Regions from separate parts of the Homo sapiens genome. Here regions 1, 2, 3, 4, 5 and 7 are each linked to region 6. The links are contacts of gene promoters, found by promoter capture Hi-C in blood cells and fetal thymus (Javierre and others, 2016). All regions are on one chromosome and are shown on one strand. The core of a region is centred on a gene start or on the middle of the fragment in contact, and the rest is flanking DNA. Distances in the headings are between cores, read along the strand shown.

The links. The method cuts DNA at HindIII sites, captures the fragments that hold promoters and counts their contacts. A CHiCAGO score of 5 or more calls a contact.
Region 1: the fragment with the promoter of TP53INP1 here is called in contact with the fragment with the promoter of UQCRB in region 6 in 2 of 17 cell types (fetal thymus and total CD4 T cells); the score reaches 10.8 in fetal thymus.
Region 2: a fragment that was not itself captured here is called in contact with the fragment with the promoter of UQCRB in region 6 in 3 of 17 cell types (total CD8 T cells, naive CD4 T cells and total CD4 T cells); the score reaches 7.1 in total CD8 T cells.
Region 3: the fragment with the promoter of CCNE2 here is called in contact with the fragment with the promoter of UQCRB in region 6 in 2 of 17 cell types (fetal thymus and neutrophils); the score reaches 7.1 in fetal thymus.
Region 4: the fragment with the promoter of PLEKHF2 here is called in contact with the fragment with the promoter of UQCRB in region 6 in 4 of 17 cell types (non-activated CD4 T cells, activated CD4 T cells, naive CD8 T cells and 1 more); the score reaches 6.6 in non-activated CD4 T cells.
Region 5: a fragment that was not itself captured here is called in contact with the fragment with the promoter of UQCRB in region 6 in 15 of 17 cell types (M0 macrophages, total B cells, M2 macrophages and 12 more); the score reaches 20.8 in M0 macrophages.
Region 7: a fragment that was not itself captured here is called in contact with the fragment with the promoter of UQCRB in region 6 in 1 of 17 cell types (fetal thymus); the score reaches 5.4 in fetal thymus.

The regions. Positions count from the first base shown.
Region 1 is chr8:94,947,631-94,950,948 of GRCh38, reverse strand. It overlaps TP53INP1 (tumor protein p53 inducible nuclear protein 1), which reads left to right and starts at 1,571. Exons shown (of 4, transcript NM_033285.4): 1 at 1,571-1,795. It also overlaps a transcript of NDUFAF6 not described here. RefSeq lists enhancers at 716-765, 936-1,105, 972-1,601, 1,602-2,230 and silencers at 1,226-1,335, 1,416-1,795, 2,016-2,155. The HindIII fragment of the contact is 4,012 bases long and covers 1-3,038 here.
Region 2 is chr8:95,024,284-95,027,800 of GRCh38, reverse strand. NDUFAF6 (NADH:ubiquinone oxidoreductase complex assembly factor 6) reads right to left here and starts at 2,812. Exons shown (of 9, transcript NM_152416.4): 1 at 2,596-2,812. The coding sequence starts at 2,792. RefSeq lists a silencer at 2,521-2,890 and enhancers at 2,646-2,940, 2,907-3,517. The HindIII fragment of the contact is 5,537 bases long and covers 1-3,517 here.
Region 3 is chr8:94,893,547-94,896,894 of GRCh38, reverse strand. CCNE2 (cyclin E2) reads left to right here and starts at 1,694. Exons shown (of 12, transcript NM_057749.3): 1 at 1,694-1,718; 2 at 2,648-2,687; 3 at 2,776-2,872; 4 at 2,951-3,004. The coding sequence starts at 2,674. It also overlaps a transcript of NDUFAF6 not described here. RefSeq lists silencers at 105-324, 605-654, 825-874, 1,005-1,104, 1,485-1,704 and an enhancer at 2,321-2,882. The HindIII fragment of the contact is 5,265 bases long and covers 1-3,348 here.
Region 4 is chr8:95,131,920-95,135,144 of GRCh38, reverse strand. It overlaps PLEKHF2 (pleckstrin homology and FYVE domain containing 2), which reads right to left and starts at 1,360. Exons shown (of 2, transcript NM_024613.4): 1 at 1,115-1,360. RefSeq lists silencers at 799-958, 979-1,618. The HindIII fragment of the contact is 9,547 bases long and covers 1-3,225 here.
Region 5 is chr8:97,563,413-97,566,836 of GRCh38, reverse strand. No RefSeq gene overlaps it. Among named protein-coding and RNA genes, the nearest start is that of MTDH, 79 kb to the left of the region's middle. The HindIII fragment of the contact is 8,862 bases long and covers 1-3,424 here.
Region 6 is chr8:96,234,208-96,237,420 of GRCh38, reverse strand. It overlaps UQCRB (ubiquinol-cytochrome c reductase binding protein), which reads left to right and starts at 1,876. Exons shown (of 4, transcript NM_006294.5): 1 at 1,876-1,909. The coding sequence starts at 1,891. UQCRB-AS1 (UQCRB antisense RNA 1) reads right to left here and starts at 2,128. Exons shown (of 2, transcript NR_183275.1): 1 at 1,860-2,128. RefSeq lists an enhancer at 1,870-2,149. The HindIII fragment of the contact is 3,599 bases long and covers 1,369-3,213 here.
Region 7 is chr8:94,816,821-94,819,882 of GRCh38, reverse strand. No RefSeq gene overlaps it. Among named protein-coding and RNA genes, the nearest start is that of INTS8, 4.9 kb to the left of the region's middle. The HindIII fragment of the contact is 7,350 bases long and covers 1-3,062 here.

The sequences.
Region 1 (3,318 bases), core at 322-2,821, 1.3 Mb after region 6:
ATCTACTTCATATTGAATTTTTCTATCATAACAAGATGATGATTTCACATGTTGCTTTAACCATGATAAACCTTATCAAACTGGAAAAAGGTAGGCCTTTTTCTTTTTAAAAATTAGCCCCTTGTAATTGTCATCATACCTTGGTTCTGAATGTGGAGATGGCCTCTTCAATGGATTCCTAGGGAGAAACAAGAGATCATGGGGCTCCTACCATAGCATGTGGGAGAAAATATTAGAACAAGCCTGATTTGCAAAAACCTAAAATCCAAAGCATGTTCAAGTCTGTGAGACTATCTAGAACACAGTTTTAGCTCTTTCTCCCAAGATAAGGTCCAATGACCATCATATTTTGATCATTACTCCTTGGTGTCTGACAACTCCCTGCACTGCAATTTACATCCTTTAAAACCAGCATTGTTGGAAATGGACTGACTACATTGTGAGGGTCAGAATGTGAGTGTCTTTCAGATACTGTAATGTGTGATAGGCATCCCTCCAGGGTTGCTATACAGCTCACCCCAGGTCAAAGAACTACATCCCAGTCCAAACAGTATCCACATGAGAGCTGATAGGCATCAACGTTACTCACCTGCCTTTGCCAGACAGTTAATCCACCTATATGTGGGACAGAGCCTTGGTCTGGAAAACACTTTCAAGCCCACTGTCTCACTCTCTTGTCACTATAAATAACCTGGTGAGTTGGCAGTCCCGGCGTGAATGCCCACAATTTGCAGGTATGCAAACAGAACAGAGGGGCTAAGTTCCGTGGGTCACATGAGAGCTAGGCTGCAGCGCCTGGGGAGGCGGCCGTTCCCGCCCGGTGCGCTTGTTGTCCGCTGGAGCAGAGGCCCCCGAGCCTGCTGACCTCTCTGCCTTCAGGCCTGGTCTCGCAGTCCCTTGTGCCTCGCCTATAGGCAGGCGGAATCCAGAGCGTGCAGCAAGCCCGGCCGGCTCTCGGTGGCGGTTTCTACAGCAGGTGGGGCCTGGCTCCGTGATTGAGCGGCCTCTACCCCTCTATCTGGGGCCCAGCAGCGGCCCCCTCCCAGCACCCTGGCTACACGTCTAACCCTAGGCTGACCAGGTGGGGCTCTCGGAGGCGTTAGCCCCAGCCCTCCCAGGAGTCTTAATGTTCCTCTCACAGGAAAAAACGTTCTGCGCCCTTTGTGCCCCAAACCCTCGACCCTTCACTCGGCGAGAGGGGTCGCTGAGGGAGAGATCCACCTCTGCCCTTCCCGTTGCCCGCCGGTTCTTCCTCGCCCGCCTCTTACGCACCCCGCTCCCGCCGGCTCCTGGAAAGCCGGCCCCGGCCCCAGCGCTTCCCTCCCCGGCCTAGCCCCTCTCTCCCACCCTTCCGCTCGCCCAGGCCTTCACGCTCAGCTCCCGGTTTTTGTTGCCCGGGCTTGTTTCGGAGCTGAGCGCGCCGCCGGCCGGGCGCCAGGTCACGTGCGTTGGTGACAACCTCTCGCAGGGCGGCCCCGGGGCCCCCGCACCGCCGATTGGTGGGGCCCGGCCTGGCGCGGCCCGGGGCGGGGCAGCGGGGCCCGACGGCGAGCGGAGCGGCCGATCAGCTGTTGCGAGCGCTGCACAACAACAAAAGGACTTGGACTGGCCGGCCTGGGCGCAGCGACCCGAGGGCTGGAGCCGGCCCCGCGCCTGCCGTCTGGGTACCTGAACGAGGTGCAGCGCAGCCCGGCCCCACCGCAGCTACCTCAGCAGTCCCGCCCCGCCCGCGTCCTTCCCCGCCGAGCCGGCGGCCGCTCCCTTCCCCGCGCAGCCCCGCACGGCCCGGGCCCACGTAAGTGCCGGGGGGGGGCGGGCGGGCGTCCGTCCAGGGCCGCCTCGCTGCCGGTTGGGGCCGCAGCGCTGCCCGCTCCTGAGCCCGGCGGGGCCGGCCGCGCGCCCTGCCTTCGGGGCGCCGGTTGCGCGTTCACCGAGCCCCCTCGCTGCCTCCCCTCGCCGCCGCCGGGCCCGGCCGCCCACCCAGTGGGTCGGTCCTCGGCGGCCCCCGGGGCCCAGGGCGCGGACAGAGGCTGACAGAGGCGGCGGCGGCGCGGACAAGGGCCCGGCCTGGCCCCGGCGCTGGGCGGCGGTTGGGAGTTTGGTCTCTGCCTCCTCCCCCGAGCGTGGCTTGTTTTCTTGGCCGCGGCGGGACCTCCTCCTCTCACCCCTCCTCACTCCCCTCCACTCCTCCTCCTCCGCCTGCTCTCGGCCGTTGGATGGGGCCGCCCCTTCGGGACTCGGCGTCGGGGCTCCCGCGGCCACCCCCGGGACGCATCTCCGAAGACAGCGGCGCTTGGGCTTGTGGCCCGGCGCTCTGTCCCCGCCCTGCGATCCCGTCCCCTGCGCCTGCCCTCCGAGTTCCGGAGGCCCTGCGGCTATGGGGAACCTGCTCCGTGACCCGGCCACCGGCCCCCGCCTGTCCGCGGCCTGTCCCTTGCTTGACCTGGCTTGAACTCAGTCTTCGCTACCTGACTTTGCACCTGTGGAAAGAGCGCTCTCCTTGGCCCTTAACATTTAGATCCTTTGGATCGCTCACGCTTACTGAGCGCTGAGTATGTGCCATATACTATGCTGGGGGCTTTGCTTTATCGCCCCAGTTGATTCTCATAATAACCTTATATGAAATAGGCCCGGCTATCTTACACATAGGAAACCCGAGGCACAGAGAGATTAAGTTGCTCAAGGCCACACAGCCAATTAATAAAAGGAAATGGTGTTTGTATTTCAAAGTGGCAGCTGAATTTTACCTGGAGAGTCTGTTTTGCTTGTATTTTCTGATTATATCTGCTCAGTAGGTTAATTCCAATACAGAGTGGATTAAGGAAGAGCCTCTTTACAACTGTGACTCCCAAGGACTTGGGCATCTATTGCTAAAAAAGCCTTTTCTCAATGCACAATAGTTTTGGGAAAAGGGGGAACAATGTGACCCTTGGGGTCACTGAACAGAAGTCATAATGAGTTCCCCCACGATACTGAAATCACCAGCCTGGTAATTGAAATACATTTTCATTTGCAGATGTGAAAAGCACTGGGAAGCTTTTAAGTCGCAATCAGTGTAATTCTGAACTGGCAGCATAATTTTAAAAGGCCCCTGCCTGGAACCAGGACCTTACTAATTTCTGTGACCAAGGTCTTGTTTTCTCATCCTATCTTTTGTTCTTTCCTGCCATTGCTTCCTCTGATGTCTGCTTTCAAAATTCAAGATTATCAGGCTATGAATTACCACTTACTCTTGTCTTTGTCCACTGTCTTTCAGCCTTAGGGGCAGACAGGGGTGGATCCCTGGGGGAATAACCTCCCTTGCACACTAGTTGAACA
Region 2 (3,517 bases), core at 696-3,195, 1.2 Mb after region 6:
AGAGGCCAAATCTTGCAGAGATTATTGATGGACAATTAGAAGCCAGAAATTCTATTTCAAGTTTATTTTTATTTTTTAAACTTATATTTGTCATGTGTCTGAACTCTGCTAAGCATTTTTTACTATATCATCACATTTAATCCTCACAACACCAGGCTATAAGGTAAGAGTAAACATTTACAAATGAGGAAAAAACCGAATCTTTTTTTTTTTTTTTTTTTGAGACAGGGTCTCATTTTGTCACCCAGGCTGGAGTGCAGTGGCAAGATCTTGGCTCACTGCAGCCTCAACCTCCCATGTTCAAGTGATCCTCCTCTCTCAGCCTCCAGAGTAGCTGGGACTACAGGTGCTTACCACCATGCCCAGCTAATTTTATTTATTTTTTGTAGAGAAGGGGTCCCACTATGTTGCCCAGGCTGGTCTGGAACTCTTAGGCTCAAGCAATCCTCCCTCCTCAGCCTCCCAAAGTGCTAAGGTTACAGGTGTGAGCCATGGTGCCCAGCCAACATGGAATCTTAAAGAAACCTTCCCAAGTGATAGAGCTGGGATTAATACTCTCAAATCAGGTCTGCCTGCAAAATTCAGCATTTGAAATAAGTCACTAGAGTCAAGAGCCCCCATTCCACACAAATAACATGGACAGTTTAAGTAACTGACCATTTGTAAATACAGTATATATACTTGAGAAAAACTAGCATGTGACTGAAGTAAAAAATAACTAATAATGTACTTAAATATTTTTGTTTGTTTGTTTTGAAACAGGGTCTTGCTCTGTTGCCCCAGCTGGAGTGCAATGGAGCAAACTCGGCTCATAGCAGCCTCAGCCTCCTGGAGTGAAGTGATCCTCCCGCCTCAGCCTCGCAGTAGCTGGGACCACAGGCTGTGCCACCAAGCCCAGCTAATTTTTTTATTTTTTGTAGCAACAGCATCCCGCTATGTTGCCCAGGCTGGTCTCAAACTCCTGGCATCAAGCAACCCTTCTGCCTAGGCTTCCCAAAATGCTGAGATTACAGGTGTAAGCCATTCCTCCAGCCTTAAATATTTGTAAATCCACAGACTATCCCTGGAAAAATAGATAAGAAATTTTTAAAAGTGATTATCTCTGCAAAGTTATGACACTAGCGGCTATTGGGTGGTATACTCTGGCAACTTAAAGTTTTTATCATCAAAATATAACAACTTAAATATATAAAAATAATGCAATCTTTTCACAATTTTGGCTTTTACAATTTTTTTTGGCTTTTACAATTCTTAATGCCTGATTTCCATTACTGCTATCTTGTTTCTCTTACAAGTAATCAACAAATAAGGTAGGAAATAAATAATTTTTGTTTTTGTTGTTTTTGAGACTGTCGCCCAGGCTAGAGTGCAGTGGAGCGATCTTGGTTCACTGCAACCTCCACCTCCCAGGCTGAAGCGATCCTCCCACGTCAGCCTCTGGAGCAGCCGGGACCACAAGCGCGGGACACAACGCCCAACTAATTTTTTATTTTTTTGTAGGGATGGGGTTTCGCCATGTTGGCCAGACTGGTCTCAGACACCTGGGCTCAAACAACCCACCGGTCTCAGCCTCCTAAAGTGCGGAGATTACAGGCGTGTAGCCACCGCGGCCGGCCCACAATTTTTAAAAGGGATTATAAACAAAACACTGAAATGCATGCATTTTGTTGTGTTATGCTGCTTTTCTCTAAAATGGAATTAAAAAAAAAACGGTTTTACTTGCATGATCAACTTCAAGGTAGTTTAGTCATTCAAGTACTTTTGGTAAGTCCTTGAGACCAAGTACTTCAAGACCTTACCCCAGTCTTTCAAATGAGACATAGCAGAAGGGCAGAGGGGCTAAGCCACTGGTCTCAGCAGTCAGGCCTGGATTCCCAGGGGTCCCTGCCGCATGAACCAGGTGACCTGATTGATCCAACCCACCTCCACAAATGATTAAGGAGCGACACCCAAGTGCCAGGCCTTCCCAGCACTACGCCCGACAAACAAAACACTTCAGGGCTCTGACTTTATGAGGCTATTCTTGTGAACCTGTGGCAAATTCTCTAATCACTATAAAACCCAGTTTCCTTGTCTGTTAAATGAGATAATAATGACTTCCACTCACTGTGCCCTTACTATATGCCAGGAATTGTTCTAAATGCTTTATAACTCACAACCTTAAATGATAGGTCTACATTTGTCCGTCGCAACTTGTAATGAAGACTAATTACTCGTAATCTGCTTTGCATAATGCCAGGCACACAGAAAGAACTCAAAGTTGGCTACCGTTGTGGTTAAAACTAATAGACGTTCTGTGAATAACAAAGGTTATTCATGCAAAAACGCTGAATTCGGCTAAAATTAAGGTTCAGATAAGGCGACAAGCGTGGGCAGTCGAAGGAATTTTGCCATAATTTTGTGACCCATGTGAATGTTCCTGTGGGCCCGCTGCCTCCGCACACCCGCACCCGACGCCCACTAGAACGCACACCCAGAGGGGCACGAGGAAGGCGCCGGTCCGCTCGCTCAAACGTCAGGCCAGACGCGAGGCGCAGCCGCTCCCACCCCGGGACCCCGCTTCCCGCCGCGCCAGGGAAGGTCGTGCTCGCTCACCGCAGCAGCTCCAGGCAGTAGTGGTCAGTGCCCCAGGCGCCCGGTCCGCTGGCCGCAGCCACGCTCCGCCCAGACACCTCCGGCCCGGGCAGCCGCCGCATGCGCGCGTACAGACCCAGAGGCGGCCGGCGGCAGCACAGGCCGGGGATGCCAAGCCGCAACGGCCCCCAGACAGAGCCGTGCGCGGAGGCCGCCATGACGCCGGCACTGCGTGCCCTTCGACCCCCCGCCGTCGGCGCGCAGCTACGCCCCGGCCACGCCCCTGCAGGTTCCCCTATGCTCCTTTGAGTCGCGGGAAGGCAGCCTCTGGACGCCGCTCAAAGAAGAGCCAGGTGTCGCTGTGGTCCTCTGCATCTGGGCCGCCGCCGCGACTCTTTGGCCTTCGTTCCAGGAAAGACCCGCCCAAGTCCGTCCGACCCCTCCTGGGCTCTTCCCCTTCCCCCACGTGCATCCACAGGCGACCTCAGAGCACCTACAAGAAGTGATGGGTGCTGCTGGTGAAGGAAGTAGCTGCCAAAATCACGCCCCGCCGCCCCTATACCCCAAATCCACCATGAGAACAGAACACCTTGCACTGTTTCTCAACAGGGGCTGCCTTGGCACTTTGGGCGCAATAGCGCTGTCCCGCACGTTGCTGGAAGTTTGCAATAGGTGAATGCCCAGTCTTGGTGACCACCAAACGCCCACACACCACCAAAGGCCTCTGGAAATGTCGCCCTGTTTGGGAACCACTGGCCACCTAACACCTCCAGCAGAAAAGCACACACATCTCTCAGAGAAGCCACACAGTAGGCCATTATCAACCACTACCTATAGCTAACCTGCTTGCTGACTTTTTTCTCCCAGTATCCTCTGGGTTCCATACGGGCAGTGCCATTATTTTGTTTCCTGCTTTACCCCAATGGCTGTCACTTGAAAATTG
Region 3 (3,348 bases), core at 445-2,944, 1.3 Mb after region 6:
TCCTACAGGTAAATTAGGGAGAGAATTATTTTGCCGGCGTCACGAGACGAAGAATCGAAAAAGTGTGAAAAAGGACTTCGCCCGCCCCAAAGCGCCCATCCGGCGGCGGCTATTTCCCGGGCCTCAAGCGCGCTCGAGCGGCGCAGCACAAAAGGCCGGGCGGGAGCGGGGGTCGCCGGGCGCCGCCTCCCGGTGCATCTCGGGAAGGGCTCCCGCCCGCGAGGCTCCGTCTCCCCGGCGCGGCCCGCTCGCCGTCCGGCTCGCTCAGGGCCTGGGCAGACGCGGCCCGCCCGAGCTACCGCGGGTTCCGAGACGCCTTCGCACTGCTCCTCCACCCGGGGGATCTTTGTTCCCGGAGCTGTTCCCCGCCTCGCTGCTCCCGCCGCAAAACCTGTTTGCGGAATACCCGCCGCAAGTCTGACTTGACGATGTGCAGTTTTGGGGTGCGCCAGTTGTGGGGGCATTCATAGAGGCAGCGAAGGGACCCCTAAGTTTAAACACCCGGGGAAGGATAAAGGAAGAGCGTCGGGCCCCCCTCCTCCCAACAGCGCTCGGGCGCGAACGGCGCCCTCCCGCGCTGCCGGCTCGCGCGGGCTCCGCAGGGCGCGCTGGCGGCGGCGGCGGGGCGGGGCGCGGCAGGCGGGCCCGGGGCCTGCACGTGGTGGCGATCTTTCTTCCCACCCGGCCAGGTCCCCGGGGACCACCGCGCTCAGGGGGAGGAGGAATGCCGTTCCCGGGCCCCGCTCCGGAGAGGGGTTTTACCCTCTGGGATCCCGGAATTGGAGGTGGAGAAGAGAGGAAGCAAGGGAGGGCGCGGCGTGGCGCGAGCGTTTCCTGCGCGGGGACTGCGGGGTGGCAGCTGGAGGCCACTGCAGGGGCAGAGCGGCGGGTTGGGGGAGCGACCGACCCATGGGGAGGGAAACCCGGTAGGGGGAGCAGGGAGCCGGAAAGCAGGGTTGATACATACCTGGGTGGGCGGGCTGGAAATGCCTTCCCTGGGCGCGCCGCGCAAGGCCGGCGGAGCGGGCTCCGGGTGGTCGCGGACCGGGACTGGGGAGAGCAGAGCCGCACTTGGCCAGGCGCGTGGCTGAGTGGTGTTTACATTCTGCAGCCACTCCACGTTGTGCTGCCGCCCGTGCCTCCCATTGGCCAGCTCTTCAGCCAACGCTTTGCTCCTCCCCGAGGGGCGGGCCCTCGGGTCCCCGCGTCGCTCAGGAAAGACCTGGGTTCCCTGAGGCCTTGGCGGGACAGCTAGGGCGCGCCCCTGGACGGTCACTTCCCAGCCACCCTATGGTCGCCCGAGTCGTGTCCCCCTGTTATGCGCCCGGGCTGAGCCGCAGGCTGACACCCCCGAAATCCAGGAGTTGCAGTGGGAGGAAGCAAAAGCAAACTGGCGGGAGATGCGCGAGCCAGGCGGCGGGGAGAACAGCCGCGGAGAAGGAGCCCCTGAGAGTTTCCCTACCGCCGCCGGCCGCGCCGTGGAGCGCGGTGGACGCGGGCAGAAGGCCCGGTAGAGTGGACCCCACGGCCGCTCCGGGTGGCGGGCGCGCACTGAGAGCAGGGCGCGGCGCGCGGGCACGCGGGCGGACGGGCGGGAGAGGGGAGCGCGCTGTCCGGAGGTGTCAGTCTGAGGCGCATGCGTGCGGGGCGGGACCGGCCCGGCCTATATATTGGGTTGGCGCCGGCGCCAGCTGAGCCGAGCGGTAGCTGGTCTGGCGGTGAGGAGTTGCTGCGCGTAGGGGGGATGTGGGAGGAAAGAAAGCCCAGTTGGGCCGATCACTTACCACAGGCGGGAGCCTCAGGGAGGAAAATCGGGAGGGCTGAGAACTAGACGACTGGGGGTCATGGGTTCCCGCGTTCCGTCCCTGTCAGGAACCTTGGCAGGGGACCGGGAAGCGGCTGGGCATGGAGAGCCGCCCCTCATTCTAGGGGCTTCTCTATCCCACCCTCATTTGGGGAGCTATCCCGTGGGAGAGAGGATGGGAGGCCGGGTCCCCTCCATGGGGAGAAAAGTTCCCAGCCAGCCCAGTCTCCCCTTTCTTTAGCTCCTTTTCCTGCCCTCCCCCACGCCCTCCGCTTCCCATCTGGAGTTGGGGTCCCGGCGCCCCTCCGAGCGGCGGTAGGGCGGCAGGGCCGGGAAGGAGGGAAAGGAGACTGGAGGCCGTGACACCAGTCTTGGTTCCTCCGCCCCCTGCTTCCCCGCCACCGCCGCTCTCCAAATTGGCGCGGAACCGGCTTCTCCACAGCATTTCGCCTCCACAACCCCCTCTCCCCGCTGGTCCAGGAGGGAGGCGGGACGTGGGGGCGCTGCCCAAGCCCCACTCCCGGTGTACGGGGGAGAGGGTGGAGGACCCAGAAAAACCCGTTTGAGGAAGATGTGCCTCCCTGCGCGTTCAAGGTGTCAGGAGTGCTTGGTAAATTTTTGGACACTCGCGTTCCAGCTGTACATTCAGTTGAGGAAATGCAGGCTTGTATCCAAAATGAATTACCATGAGCTAGCTAACATAGCACAGAAGATGGCAGGGTCACAGGGCCCAGGCCCCCTTCGGAGGGACTGAGCTTTCACCTGCGAATCAGCGTCTTACTGGCACTTGGAGAATGTGAATGACAATGTACTTGACTGCGGCTTTTCCTCTCCCCCCTTCAGAGGTTTTATACACCTGAAAGAAGAGAATGTCAAGACGAAGGTAACATTATCTGTCTTAGAGACATGTTTCAAATTAGTTGCTGCCTTTAACTTACTAATTACACTTCCTTTTTAAAAATTCACTACAGTAGCCGTTTACAAGCTAAGCAGCAGCCCCAGCCCAGCCAGACGGAATCCCCCCAAGAAGCCCAGATAATCCAGGCCAAGAAGAGGAAAACTACCCAGGTGATTTAAGGAGAAAGAGGGAGGAACGAAATTCCATGCTGGGACTTTAGTTTACCAATGGTCTTTTCTATTTTCCAGGATGTCAAAAAAAGAAGAGAGGAGGTCACCAAGAAACATCAGTATGAAATTAGGGTAATGCAGAACTGGGCTGGGTGGGTTTGGGGGAAAAATGGAGGATAGATGAATAAGAATAGAATTATGTGTTTATTGCTTTGCGATAGATTCCTCTGACACTTTTACTTTTAATGCCCCTAGAGGTCAGCAGGAAGGCGCCTATCTTTGGGTGGTTTCTATGTGCCCGAATCCTACTACAGCTGCAGAATAAGTGCCTTCAAGCAGCTGGTTCCTTTTTGTAAATCCCTCCCTCTTGGAACTGCCTGGTGCACCAGGGCCCGCCTAATCTGTCCAATATACTGCTCTTTGTTCCCTCGCAGACTCTAGTAGACGGTCCTAATAGCTGCTTCTTGGGCATAAAT
Region 4 (3,225 bases), core at 111-2,610, 1.1 Mb after region 6:
TACGTGTGCTTTCCAAATAAATAGCTTAATACCATTCATTCCCCGTGTGGTCGGGACCCAAAGAGATTATAATGAAGCCTTCGTTAATACTGAATTAACGTGAAGACCCCACGAGCTGCCAGAGTATTTAAAAAAAGTAAATGCTCAAAACGCGGTAGGCATTCACCCTTAAGAAACTAAAGGGAGGGGAAAAAAACTTCAAACTGTCAAGATCACTTCTTATTCTTAAGAGAACACATGCCTTTAAGACTCTCAAAGTTTCTGTCTAAATCTTTCTTTAATGAGTCTCTTCAGCAACGTACTACACAACACGACAAAGAAGGCATTTATCAACAACGCGTTTTGTGAGTCTATGAATTACCGAGGAGGGCTTAGGTGTCTGTAACCTTCATACCCACTTCCACCGCACACTCAAGTTATTGCTGGAATGTACGGAGAGCACACAAGGCTATTCAAGCAACACCGGCAGCGCGCTCTCGGCCTTCAATCACATTTTTAAAAAGAAAAATAAATTCGTCAAAGGATCATAAAACTTGAAAAGGCTCCAAATAAATAAACCATCGCTTCTATCAGAGCAAGTTCTGCGGGGCCATTTTCGTCTCCCAAGTGACATACAAATATGTAGTTCAGGTCATAAGGTCCCCGACACGCAGACCCTGCAAACTTTTCGGCCAGAAATTTGTCGCGACCCTGAGACGCCCCCGGCCGTGTCCAGGACCCCCGTCCTCAGGCCCCACAACTTCTCGCCCGGCCTCGGGGCTCCTTCCCGCGTCCGCCGGCCCCCGCCCCGCAGACCCGTGGACCGGACCCTACCCGGCGGCCCCCGTCCCCCCGCGGCGGCGGCGGCGTCCTACGGGCGGGCGCGGCTCGCTCCCGGGCTGGCGGGACGGCGGCGGCAACTGGCCCGCGGGCCGGCCCCGGCGCGAGGGGAGCGGCCGGGAGCGCCCCGTTTCTCACAGACCCCAACATGGCGTCGGCCGCCACCGCCCGCGACGACGACACCTCCCGGCGCTGCGACGGCTCCGGGACCGCGGGAGGAAGCGCCCGGAAAGTTTCGCGTCTCCCCTCCCGGCCCGTCAGGAGCCGGCGGACCACCCACCCGGGCTTCACCTACCCCGACGGCCGCGGGCGGCGGCGGCGGCGACAGCGAAGGCGAAGGTCCGATCCTCCTGGTCGCGGACGCAGGGCGCGGACTCTGCCCGTTCCCCGCCGGGGCCTTCCAGGGTGTGTGCTGTCCGCAGCCCCGCGCAGCCGGCGCGATCCAGACGCGGTGGGCGGGCTGGCCGCCAGCGCAGCCGCTCGCAGGTGACTCCCCCGCCCCTCCAGTCGAACCCGACAACGGCTGCCTGGGCTGGCCTCTCCCCTGCGCGCGCACGGGCGCGCCCCCGTCCACACTCCGGGCGCGAGCGCGCGGGCACGAGCACACCCACACCCCTCGCTCCCCGCCCTTTCTTGCCAGTTCCCTCGCCCCGCCCCTCGCGCCCCTCGCGACGCGCTCTAGGGGCGGGGCCTTTGGCGGAGGCCACACCCACTCAGGCCGGCCGCGGGCGGAGCTTGTCCATGTGTGAGGTCGGGACGCGCTCCCGCGACGCGTTGAGGTGCACGTGAGGCGCCTTACCTGACTTTCCTGACTCCGACCAGCCCTTAGAAAGTATTGCTCAACTGTCTACGAAGTTCTTAGGGAGACTGGAATAATAGAAGGAAGACACCTCCCCACCCACAACAGGCCTCCCCGGGGAACTGAAGAACGAGAAAGGCAGGCTTTGGATCTAAATGCCCAAAGGCATCGGTACTGGCATTTGCTGCTCCCATTTAGCACAGCAATCCTTTCCGTCACACTTTCCCTTTGCTTTACCTAAAATCCCTCCTCTTGAAACCAAGGGAACTGCGGCGACACACACATACCCTACGTGCTCCACCCAGCCCTTTCTTTTAAATGCATACTTTAGAATTCTGGTCTTCCCAAAACTTTGACGACACAAAACCCCATCAGCCTACTTCACATACCTAGAAACTGTAATTATTGCATAGTATATAAGGTTAAATGTGCCCTAATTGATCTGATAGCTAAGCGCTCTGATGGGTTCGTAGAGAGGTAACGAAGTTGCTTAGGGTAGACTAGGGATGGGGGCGAAGTAGGGAGAACAGCATACTTATTTTAAACAAAGTGTGTGTGGTGTGTAGGAGGAAATTGGGTTTTGGTAAATTTTATATTTCTTATTCATCTATTACTTCAGTAAGTTGTTTTAACCTGTGTTTGATTGCTGTTGAATTAGAGTCACTACCAGCCAAGCTGCACGTGGATGAGCACCTAGGGATGAGAGCAGACTTGGGTTCCGCCCTGCTCTTCCACCTGGGATCTTCCTCCTCCAGGCTTGTTGCCTCCTATCCTCCCCTATTTCAATAGAGTTTGTCTCTGAAACAAACAAGTCTTTTTTTAAATTAATAATTAGAACAAAATTGGCAAAGATGAACTTTTTTTAAATGGGGAAAATTGTATGATCACACACACACAATCTTTCGTGTGTTAGAGTTGTCTCTAGATGAGTACAGATGTCACCAGGACGCTTGTCCGTACCATCACTCTACCTCATTCACCTCTACGTGCACAGCAATATCTATCAGTGGGGAAAAGGCAGGACTAAATAATGCCTAAAATCCTTTTAAATTTTGAAAGTAGGAATTGCTATGTCTGACTGGTTGTCTAAGGTCAAGCCTAGAGCATTAGTTATCAAATATTTTTGGTCACTCACATTAGTAAAAATGTTTGCCCTCCTCACTTCCCATGTACTTATTTAGCTTAAGTAAAGTGCATAGATAGAAGCCAGAATGACTGTAATCAAACATTGGCTTTGTCTCTAACAACCTTGGCACATCCAAAGATAACTTTGGTTTTTTCACTTGTAAAATGGAGATAATAAAAGTATATCACAGAGTCATTATGCAGATGAAATGAATTAATATATGTAAAGCATATACCTGGCACACAGTGCTTTACAAGTGTGAAATAAAATTATTACATACATAATATACACATTTATATAGTGCTACGTAAGTGTGAAATAAAAGTTGTTACATATGTAATATACCCAGCTACTCAGGAGGCTGAGGCTGGAGGATCACTTGAGGCCAGGAGTTTGAATCCAGCCTGGGCAGCATAGCAAGACCCAGTCACACATACACACAGAATTATATGTATGATATATATAGTGTGTATTTATATAC
Region 5 (3,424 bases), core at 907-3,406, 1.3 Mb before region 6:
CTGTCTAACTCACAAAGAAGCCAGAAGACAGGAGTTCTCCAGGGCAGCTTCTGCTGTTCTGTGCCTTTGTGGGGAGTTAATGTATAGATCAATCATACTCTTTCTTTCTTTCTTTTTTTTTTTTTTTTTTGAAACAAAGAGTCTTGCCGTGTTACCCAGCCTGGAGTGCAGTGGCTTGATAACAGTTCACTGCAGCCTCCATCTCCTGGGCTCAAGTGATTCTTGAGCCTCAGCCTCCCAAGTAGCTGGGGCCACAGGAGTGCACCACCACACCCGGCTAATTTTTGAATTTTTTATAGAGACGGGGTTTCACCATGTTCCTCGGGCTGGTCTCAAACTCCTGACCTCAAGTGATCCACCTATCTCAGCCTCCCAAAGTGCTGAAATTACAGGCGTGGATAAACAATATTTTTTTGCACCAATTTACTCATAACTTTTTTAGAGGCTGGTGGGTTTCAGTTGTGGTTTTCACTCCCTTCTTAGACATGATCAACACATATTTTTTGATTCAACACTCATCATTCATTCATTCATTGCAGTACAGTGGTTAAGCATGTGGGTTTTAGTGTGCCAAATAAAACATTTAAAACATTAAAAATATATTGCTCCCAGCTGGGCACAGTGGCTCGTGCCTGTAATCCCAGCACTTTGGGTGGCTGAGGTGGATGGATCACTTGAGCTCAGGAGTTCGAGACCAGCCTGGGCAACAAAGTGAGATCCTTGTCTCTACAAAAAATAAAATAATTAGCCTGGTATGGTGGCATGAGCCCATAGTCCCGGCTACTTAGGAGGCTGAGGCAGGAAGATCACTTGAGCCAGGGAGATTGAGGCTGCAGTGAGCTATGATTGTGCCACTGCACTCCAACCTGGACCATAGAGTGAGAACCTGTATCTAAAAAACAAAACAAAGCCAAACAAAAGATTGTTCCAGCAGCTGGTTAGTCTGGGAAGCCCATAGAAGTGTGGCGGTGGAGCTTATGAATGCATTAGGAGAGCTATAGGGATTGGGAAGTTTACGAGTTGAATTGTGTCCCCTAGGAGATTCGTTGAAGTCTTTTTTCTTTTTTCATTTATTTCATTTTATTTATTTATTTATATATTTATTTATTTATTTATTTTTCCTTTTACAAACCCTTGTGTCAAGGGCTGACTTTCAATAGATCTCAGCAGGTAGCTGCTCTGCTACGTATGAAACCCCTACCCAGAAGCAGGTGGGCTACGAATGGTTTAGCGTCAGGTTCCCCACGTGAGGGTTGAGGGTGCAGCTGCCTTTCCAGCAGCACCCCGTTTCCCAGGACGTGGGGCTCTCTGCGCCGCACCCCTGTCCCGGCCATGTGAGGACAGAATAACAGCCATGTGAGGACAGAGGCAAACATTCTGCTGCCACAAGCCAAGGAAGGCCGGGAGGCTGCCAGAAACTGGAAGAGACTAGAAAGGGCTTTCCACGAGAGGCTTGGAGGGAGCATGACCCTGCTGACGCCTTGGGTGACAGCTGGGAAAGAGCCTGGTGGCTGTAGCCAGACTTCTAGCCCCAAGTACTGGGGCAGAAGAAATTTCTGTTGTTCTAAGCCAAGTTTGTGGTACTTTGTTATGGCAGTCAAAGAAACTAGGGGATTTAGTTCTTTAGAACCTGAGATGTAAAGGCAGCTTTCCTTGAAAAGGATATTATTTATACTTATTTCAAAGTTTGTATTAAAACACCTGCAGTCTGGGTACAGTGGCTCAAGCCTGTAATTCTAGCACTTTGGGAGGCTGAGGCAGGCAGATTGCTTGAGTGCCAGAGTTCAAGACCAGCCTGGGCAATGCGGCGAAACCCCGTCTCTAAAAATTACAAAAATTCACAGGGTGTGGTGGCAGGCAACTGTAGTCTCAGATACTCAGGAGGTTTAGGTGGGAGGATCACCTGAGACCAGGAGGTGGAGGCTGCAGTGAGCTGTGACTGTGCCACTGTACTCTAGCCTTGGTGACAGAGTGGGACCCTGTCTCAAAAACCATTCTGCAGAATAGGGAAACACTGATAGAAGATTTACAAAGCACAGTGGACAGTGGACATGGTTCAATTCTGGAATGGTCTAGTCAAAGAGGAAGACCTATGAAACCACATGAGAAAAGAACACTGGGTAACATTCACTGAAGGCTGAAGCGAATATTGAGGAGATGGTCTACACTATCCCAAGTGATTTATATGAAAGAATTTATTTAACCCTTTTAAACAATCCTTAGTTATGTATTATTATTATCTCCATGTTACAAATGAAGAAACAAGGTATGGAGAGGTTAAGCAACTTGCCGAAGGTTACTGTTAATAAGTAATAGGATGGGGATTTAAAACCAGGCAGTCTGGTTCCAGAGCTTCTGCTCCAAACCACGCCAGTGCTGGAGTTCTTTACCTGCACTTCAGCGTGGGGAGAGGGCAGAACATCTCCCACAGTGCCCTCCCCTTCCACTCCACTCATACCTGCAGTTGCTCTTTCCACAGCCACTGCCCTCAAACACTCTCTCTGCAAACATTCCCTGGTGCCATCTCTTCTTTTTCTTTTTGCTCAACTGATTTTTAAAAAATTGAGATAAAATTCACAAAACCTAAAATTAACCATTTTAAAGTGAAAAATTCAGTGTCATTTAACACATTCTTAATATTGTAGAACCATCACCTCTATCTAGTTCTGAAACATTTTATTCTCCCCAAATACAACCCCATGCCCATTAAGCAGTTACTCCTCATTCTCCCCTCCCTGAGCCCCTGGCAACCAACAATTTGCCACCTCTCTCTTTGGATTTAACTATTCTGGACACTTCCTATAAATGGAACCATACGATATGTGGCCTTTTGTGTCTTGTTTCTTTCAAGCAGCTTAATGTTTTTGAGGCTCATCCAGCATGTATCAGCACTTCCTTCCTTTTGATGACTGAATAATATTCCACGGTATGTAAAATACCACAGTTTGTTTATCCACTCATCTGTAGATGGGCTTTTGGGTTGTTTCTTGTTTTTGGCTATCATGGATAGTGCTGCTATAAACATGTGTGTACAAGTGTTTGTTTGAGTCCCTGTTTCCAGTTCTTTTTGGTATTTATGTGGGTATGGATTTGCTGTCATGCATTATTTTTCTGCTTAATTTTTGACCGGGCGACTCTTGTGTTTCTCATCTTTCCATACTGATTCCTTATCACACACACAGAAAAAACCCTGCTTGGAGGGTGGGGAAGCTGAAGGGCCTGAAGCAGGCCAAGGAGTAGGATCAGGGTCAAAAAAAAGCCTGCAACACACCCACATTAATCATCATTTACTTCACCTGTCACACTTAGTATGCGTGACTATTCTCAAGTTTGGGAATTAGGCCAAGTGTTTGCTCCTTAACACTGAATTGTAGAACTTTCAAGCTGGAAGAGACTGCAGAGATTTCCCAGTTTGGTGAGTTTT
Region 6 (3,213 bases), core at 627-3,126:
AAAAGGAAAATCAATATAATTTTAGAACTGGAATGTGACTAAGATCGTTAAATCTAACCTTTTGAACTTAGGATGAGACAAGGTTCTACTCTATATTGTCCCAGCTCTGAGCTTAAAACTGAGGGGAAAAAAAAGATATCACTGAGTAATGGTAGAAGTTCACCAGTAACTATCAGTCATGCTAGCTCCCCCTAATTGTTTTCTGTCTCTAGATGTTTATGCCTAAGACTTCGCATGTTGGGGTTGAGACCTTAAAAGTGAGAAAATCTATATACTTCTCTTTTGTCTTAAAATTGTGTGCAAATTCTGCAATACATCTTAGATTTAATCTTTAAAAACCTTTTCTGCTGGGCATGATGGCTCACGCGGGTAACCCAGCATTTTGGGAGGCTGACGTGGGTGGATCACTTGAGGTCAAGAGTTTGATACCAGCCTGGCCAACACGGTGAAACCCCGTCTCTACTAAAAATACAAAAATTAGCGGGCATGGTAGTGTGTACACCTGTAGTCCCAGCTACTCAGGAGGCTGAGGCACGAGTCATTTGAACCCAGGAGGCAGAGGTTGCAGTGAGCCGAGATTGTGCCATTCAGCCTGGGTGACAGAGGCTGAACAACAAAAAAAAGGGTGAAAAAAAACAAACAAAAAAAACCCAAAACCTTTTCTGACCTAACCTTCCACTAAAATAGCTAGATATAGATCTTCAGCTGGAGAAACCCAAGGCCTGAAAGGCTTGGTGTCTTTCCTGGATTAGTAGTGTAGCAGTATAGCATATGACCCTAGAATTAAGGAGCCCCAAATTTGCATCTGGATTTTCAGATTCTGGAAGAAGAACCTGGACTCTTCTAGTCATGTGCTCTTGGACAAGTTATTCAACCTTTCTGAGCCTCAGCTTTCTCCTCTCTACAATGAGATAATTACAGTACTTTTAGAATTAAAAGATAGTTTAGGGGAGTGAGAGATCACCTCCAACCCTCCCTCCCCTTTGCTCTTATGTGGGCTCTTTGGTTGAATCTAGGAACCAAATTGACACATGGCAGATTAACAAGAGAAAAGCATACTAATTTTACTAGTTTTACATGTACATGGGGATCCGCACAAAAGAGTGAAGTGGCCAATGTAAGATGCCTTTATACTTTTTACACGAACTACAAATCAGAAGAAAGGGGATCTGGCTAGGGGCAGTAAATTTCTCGCGGAGTCATTAGGAGAAAAGTGTGTGTGTTGGGGTGTAAACTTAGTGGAAGATAACGGTTACTTCGGAAAGTATATTCAGGTCCAAAGCAGCCCCCAGTTTCGTCTCTGGTGATAGGTGCTATTTTCTCCCTCTGGTAAGGGACGGGTACTCCAGAGGAATCCTGGAGGAAGCTTTATGGCTTGCTGCATGCAGGAAGAGATAGGTCATCAAACCTTTTCTGAAACTACAATTTCTCCAATATTTTCAACTCGAAATAATCAATGTACCAATTCCATATATTTTTGGGATGGCACATCCATCAGTCCTTCAATAGAAAGTAAGACGATGCCCTTAAAACATTTAGCTTCCTGCCTGGCACAAAGAGCTGAATTAATACTGTCCACGCTCCCATAGCTATTAACAGCAAATAACAGAACCCAGCTTTAAGCCTTGGTCTCCTAATTCCTGACCTGTGTTCTTCCCATCACATCACAACCAATACTTCTTAGAATGTAGCACGCAAAATGCCCCGCCTACTCCATTGGCCTCACCCTGGCCGAGAGGTGCTTACGCAGGTGCTGAACGGCAGTCGTCAGAACTGCGCCTGCGCAAGCGGCCTTTCTCTGTTCGCGATGTGACGTAACGCGCCTGCGGACTGGGCCCAGCTTGTCCTCTATGACTTACCCAGAAGGCAACGCTTCTCTTTCTGGTCAAAATGGCTGGTAAGCAGGCCGGTAAGTAACTGGGGGTCTTCTTGGCCGGCATCGTCGCGCTTCACCGTTTATTTTTGCTGCAGCTTGCTCCGTTTTCTCTCTTCTTTGTAAGTGGCCAAGTTTGTCGCGGAAGGGAAATTGGCTGCTTCAGTCCAGTGAAAAGGATGTGCTTCCCCACTCGTTTGCTGTCCCCAGGGCGGGCTTGCCTGTATAGGGTTGGGATGTTAACCCGCTGTTTGTGAAGGTGCCCGCGGTGGCTCTGACAGCCCTGGAGTTCCAGCTGCCCGTGCTTGGAAGTCCTTCCCCTTGGCCTTAGAAAAGTTAAAGGGCACAAGAGGATAACTAGTGGATGACTTTCAACCCGAATGAGCTCAGTGCTTTCTATGACCCAAGTGCTCTATCGTGTGCATTGGCCCTATAAATTTTCTTGCCATTGCGACGAGGGAGATATTAATTTCCCTTTTACGCTGATAAGATAACTGAGGCAAAGTGACCCAAGGAAGTAGAATTGGAAATATCATTGCACCCCTCGCGCTTCTCAAACTGCGAATCAGAGACAGTTGAGCAAGGGATACGAGCGACGCTTCAGGTTGACCTTGGATTATCTAGAGCGTCAGCTTGATCAGTAGGTTTGGAGAAATTTGAATTTATTGTAGGTTCTTTTTTTCTTTTTTCTTTCTTTTTTTTTTTTTTTGCTAATCTCTGCCCTCTGGCGGTACAAGTTGGAGTAGCCGTTTTGTTTGTTTGTTTGTTTTGTCTTTGAGACGGAGTCTTGCTTTGTCGCCCAGGCTGGAGTGCAATGGCACAATCTCGTCTCACTGCAATGCAACCAAGTTGGAGTAGCTTAAAAAATGTTGATCCTTTTCTCCCCGCCCCCAGCAATTGTGAAGCTGTTAGGAAACATCAGGTTGCCAGAAACATCCGTTAACCTAATTGACATTGAGCTTTTTGGGGGTGGGGGAGACTTTTTAAATAATTATTTTATTAATTTGGCAGATATTGAAGGAGTCTTACTAAATTCAAGACACTGCTTCTGTGCGTGTTTGGGAACTACATAGACCAGATCTCAACTCCCATTAGCTAACTCTGACCTTGGGTGGGATCACTTCTGTAAGCCAGCTTCCCCTTCTGTAGTAACAGACATGTAAATAAATCAGCTAATGTTGGTAAAGCAAATAGGAAAGTGTTTGGTGCACAATAAGTGCTTAGTGAATATTATTATAGTCACTGATAGGTGGTTGAATATAATCTGTCTTCCACAAGTATGTTTGTAGATTGTTGACTGATACTTGTTTTTCTAGCAGCAGTTTTATACATGACTCTTA
Region 7 (3,062 bases), core at 348-2,847, 1.4 Mb after region 6:
CGGTGGGTCACGCCTGTAATCCCAGCACTTTGGGAGGCCGAGGCGGGCGGATCACCTGAGGTCAGGAGTTCGAGACCAGCCTGACCAACATGGAGAAACCCCATCTCTACTAAAAAATACAAAATTAGCTGGGCTTGGTGGCACATGCCTGTAATCCCAGCTACTCAGGAGGCTGAGGCAGGAGAATCGCTTGAACCCGGGAGGCAGAGGTTGCGGTGAGCCGAGATCGCGCCATTGCACTCCAGCTTAGGCGACAAGAATGAAACTCTGTCTCAAAAAAAAAAAAATGTTAAAAATAGGCTTACCAGATGACTCAGCAATTCCCCTTCTAGGTATGTATCCAAGAGAAAGGAGAAAATGTACCCACACAAAGACTTGAATGTTTAGAACAGCAGTATCTACAGTAGCCTAAAAGTAGAAACCAAGGTCTATAACCTGGTGAATAGACAAATAAAATGTGACATACTCATTGTATCTGTTTCAAGTGGCTGCTGTAACAAATTACCACAAACTTTGTGGTTTAAAACAACAGAAACTGGCCGAGTGCAGTGGCTCACGCCTGTAATCCCAGCACTTTGGGAGGCTGAGGTGGAGAGTCCAGGAATTCAAGACGTATCTGGGCAGCATAGTGAGACTTCTGTCTCTACAAAAAAATCAAAATAAAAAATAAGGCTGGGATGGTGGTGTGCGTCTGTAGTCCTGGCTATGTGGGAAACTGAGGTGGGAGGATTGCTTGAGCCCAAGAGGATGAGGCTACAGTGAGCCGAGATTGCACCACTGCACTCAGGTGGGTGACAGAGTGAGACCCTGTCTCAAAAAAAAAAAAAAAAAGAAAAGAAAGAAAGAATGAGAACAGACTGTGGTCATTCAGACTTGGGTATTTAGCAGACATTTTCTTGAACAAAGTGAGCCTGTCATGTCACTTTATGGAAAACAACTAACACCATTTGTGGCGAATAATAACATTCAATTTTTTTTTTTTTTTTTTGAGATGGAGTTTTGCTCTTGCTGCCCAGGCTGGAGTGCAATGGTGCTATCACCGCTCACTGCAACCTCCACCTCTCAGGTTCAAGCGATTCTCCTGCCTCAGCCTCCCGAATAGCTGGGATTACAGGCACTGCCACCACCACACCTGGCTAATTTTTCTATTTTTAGTAGAGATGGGGTTTCACCATGTTGGCCAGACTGGTCTTGAACTCCTGACCTCAAGTGATCCTCCCACCTTGGCCTCCCAAAGTGCTGGGATTACAGACATGAGCCACCGCTCCTGGCCAACATTCAACTTTTTAAGTAAAATTAGAATTTTAGAAAACTGTAAACTTGGCAGCTTCCCAATACTTGACAAGACTTTTCTGATGACACCAATGGCGATATTAACAAATGTATATTTAAATGTGTCAACTTTCAGATGATCATCACAACTTGACAAATCAATCAATATTTTCCTAATATATGGCTAAAAGATTTATTTAAATTCCAAGACAAGCCGAGCACAGTGGCTCATGCCTGTAATCCCAACACTTTGGGAGGCAGGGGCAGGATGATCACTTGAAACCAGGAGTTGGAGACTGCAGCGAGCTATGATCATGCCACTGTACTCCAGTCTGGGTGACAGAGCGAGACCCTGCCTCTTAAAAGTAAATAAATAAAAAATTTCAGCTGGGCACGGTGGCTCATGCCTGTAATCCCAGCACTTTGGGAGGCCGAGGTGGGAGGATGACGAGGTCAGGAGTTTGGACCAGCCTGGCCAACGTGATCAAACCCTGTCTCTATTAAAAATACAAAAATTAGCTGGCATGGTGGCAGGTGCCTGTAATCCTAGCTACTCAGGAGTCTGAAGCAGGAGAATAGCTTGAACCCGGGAGGCAGAGGTTGCAGTGAGCAGAAATCGCATCACTGTACTCCAGCCTGGGCGACAGAGCAAGACTCCATCTCAAAACAAAACAAAACAAAAAATTTCAAGACAGACTGATGAATTGTAATGGAACGGAATTTGAAAAGTTAATTGGTATGATTTCAGATTTAAAATTGCAGCTAATCTTTAAGAAACAACCACTTTCTCAGGTTTTGGTGAAGAAAGTCCATAATTATCCGAAAAGATATAAAATACTTCTTTTTTTAACTACTCATCTATGTGAGCAATGCCACTCTTCTAGTTTTTAAAATGAAAATAGTTATTTTATATAAAATTGTATTTGTCAGCATGTAATAGGATTATTTTTATTTTTATATGATTATTTTATTTTAATTTAAATAAATTAAATATTTTTAAAACTTCTCAGTGTTAATTTTTAATATGGTAAATATAAACAAACACTCTTTTAAGTGCTTAATAATTTTTTGGTCTAACAGGGCCCTGAGACTAAAAAATCTGAGAAACTATTTTATTGAGGCATGCACATCAAAATCCTACTGTGTTTGGCTCTGAAGAGAAGAGGGAAGGAGGATAGAACAGGGGTGGGTTAGAGAAGGGGAGAGGAGAGGTGAATGGGGGGAAGGAGTGGGGGAGGGGGGTCACAGGTACTTCAACTTTATCTGTATTTTTTTTTTTTGAGACAGAGTCTTGCTCTGTTGCCCAGGCTGGAGTGCAATGGTGCGCTCTTGGCTCGCTGCAACCTCCACCTCCCAGGTTCAAGTGATTCTCCTACCTCAGCCTCCAGAGTAGCTGGGATTACAGGCACGCCACCATGCCTGGCTAATTTTTGTATTTTTAGTAGAGACAGGTTACACTATGTCGACCGGGCTGGTCTCGAACTCCTGACCTCAGGTGATCTACCCGCCTCAGCCTCCCAAAGTGCTGGGATTACAGACGTGAGCCACCGCACCCCGTTCTGGTTTTTGTTTGTTTGTTTTGTGATGGTATCTCTCTGTTGCCCAGGCTGGAGTGCAGTGGCATTTAGCTCACTGCCTCCTTGACATCCTGGGTTCAAGTGATCCTTCTGCCTCAGCCTCCTGAGTAGCTGGGACCACAGATGAATACCACCATGCCCAGCTAATTTATTTATTTTTTTGCAGAGATAGGGTCTTGCTATGTTGCCCACCCAGGCTGATCTGGAGCTCTT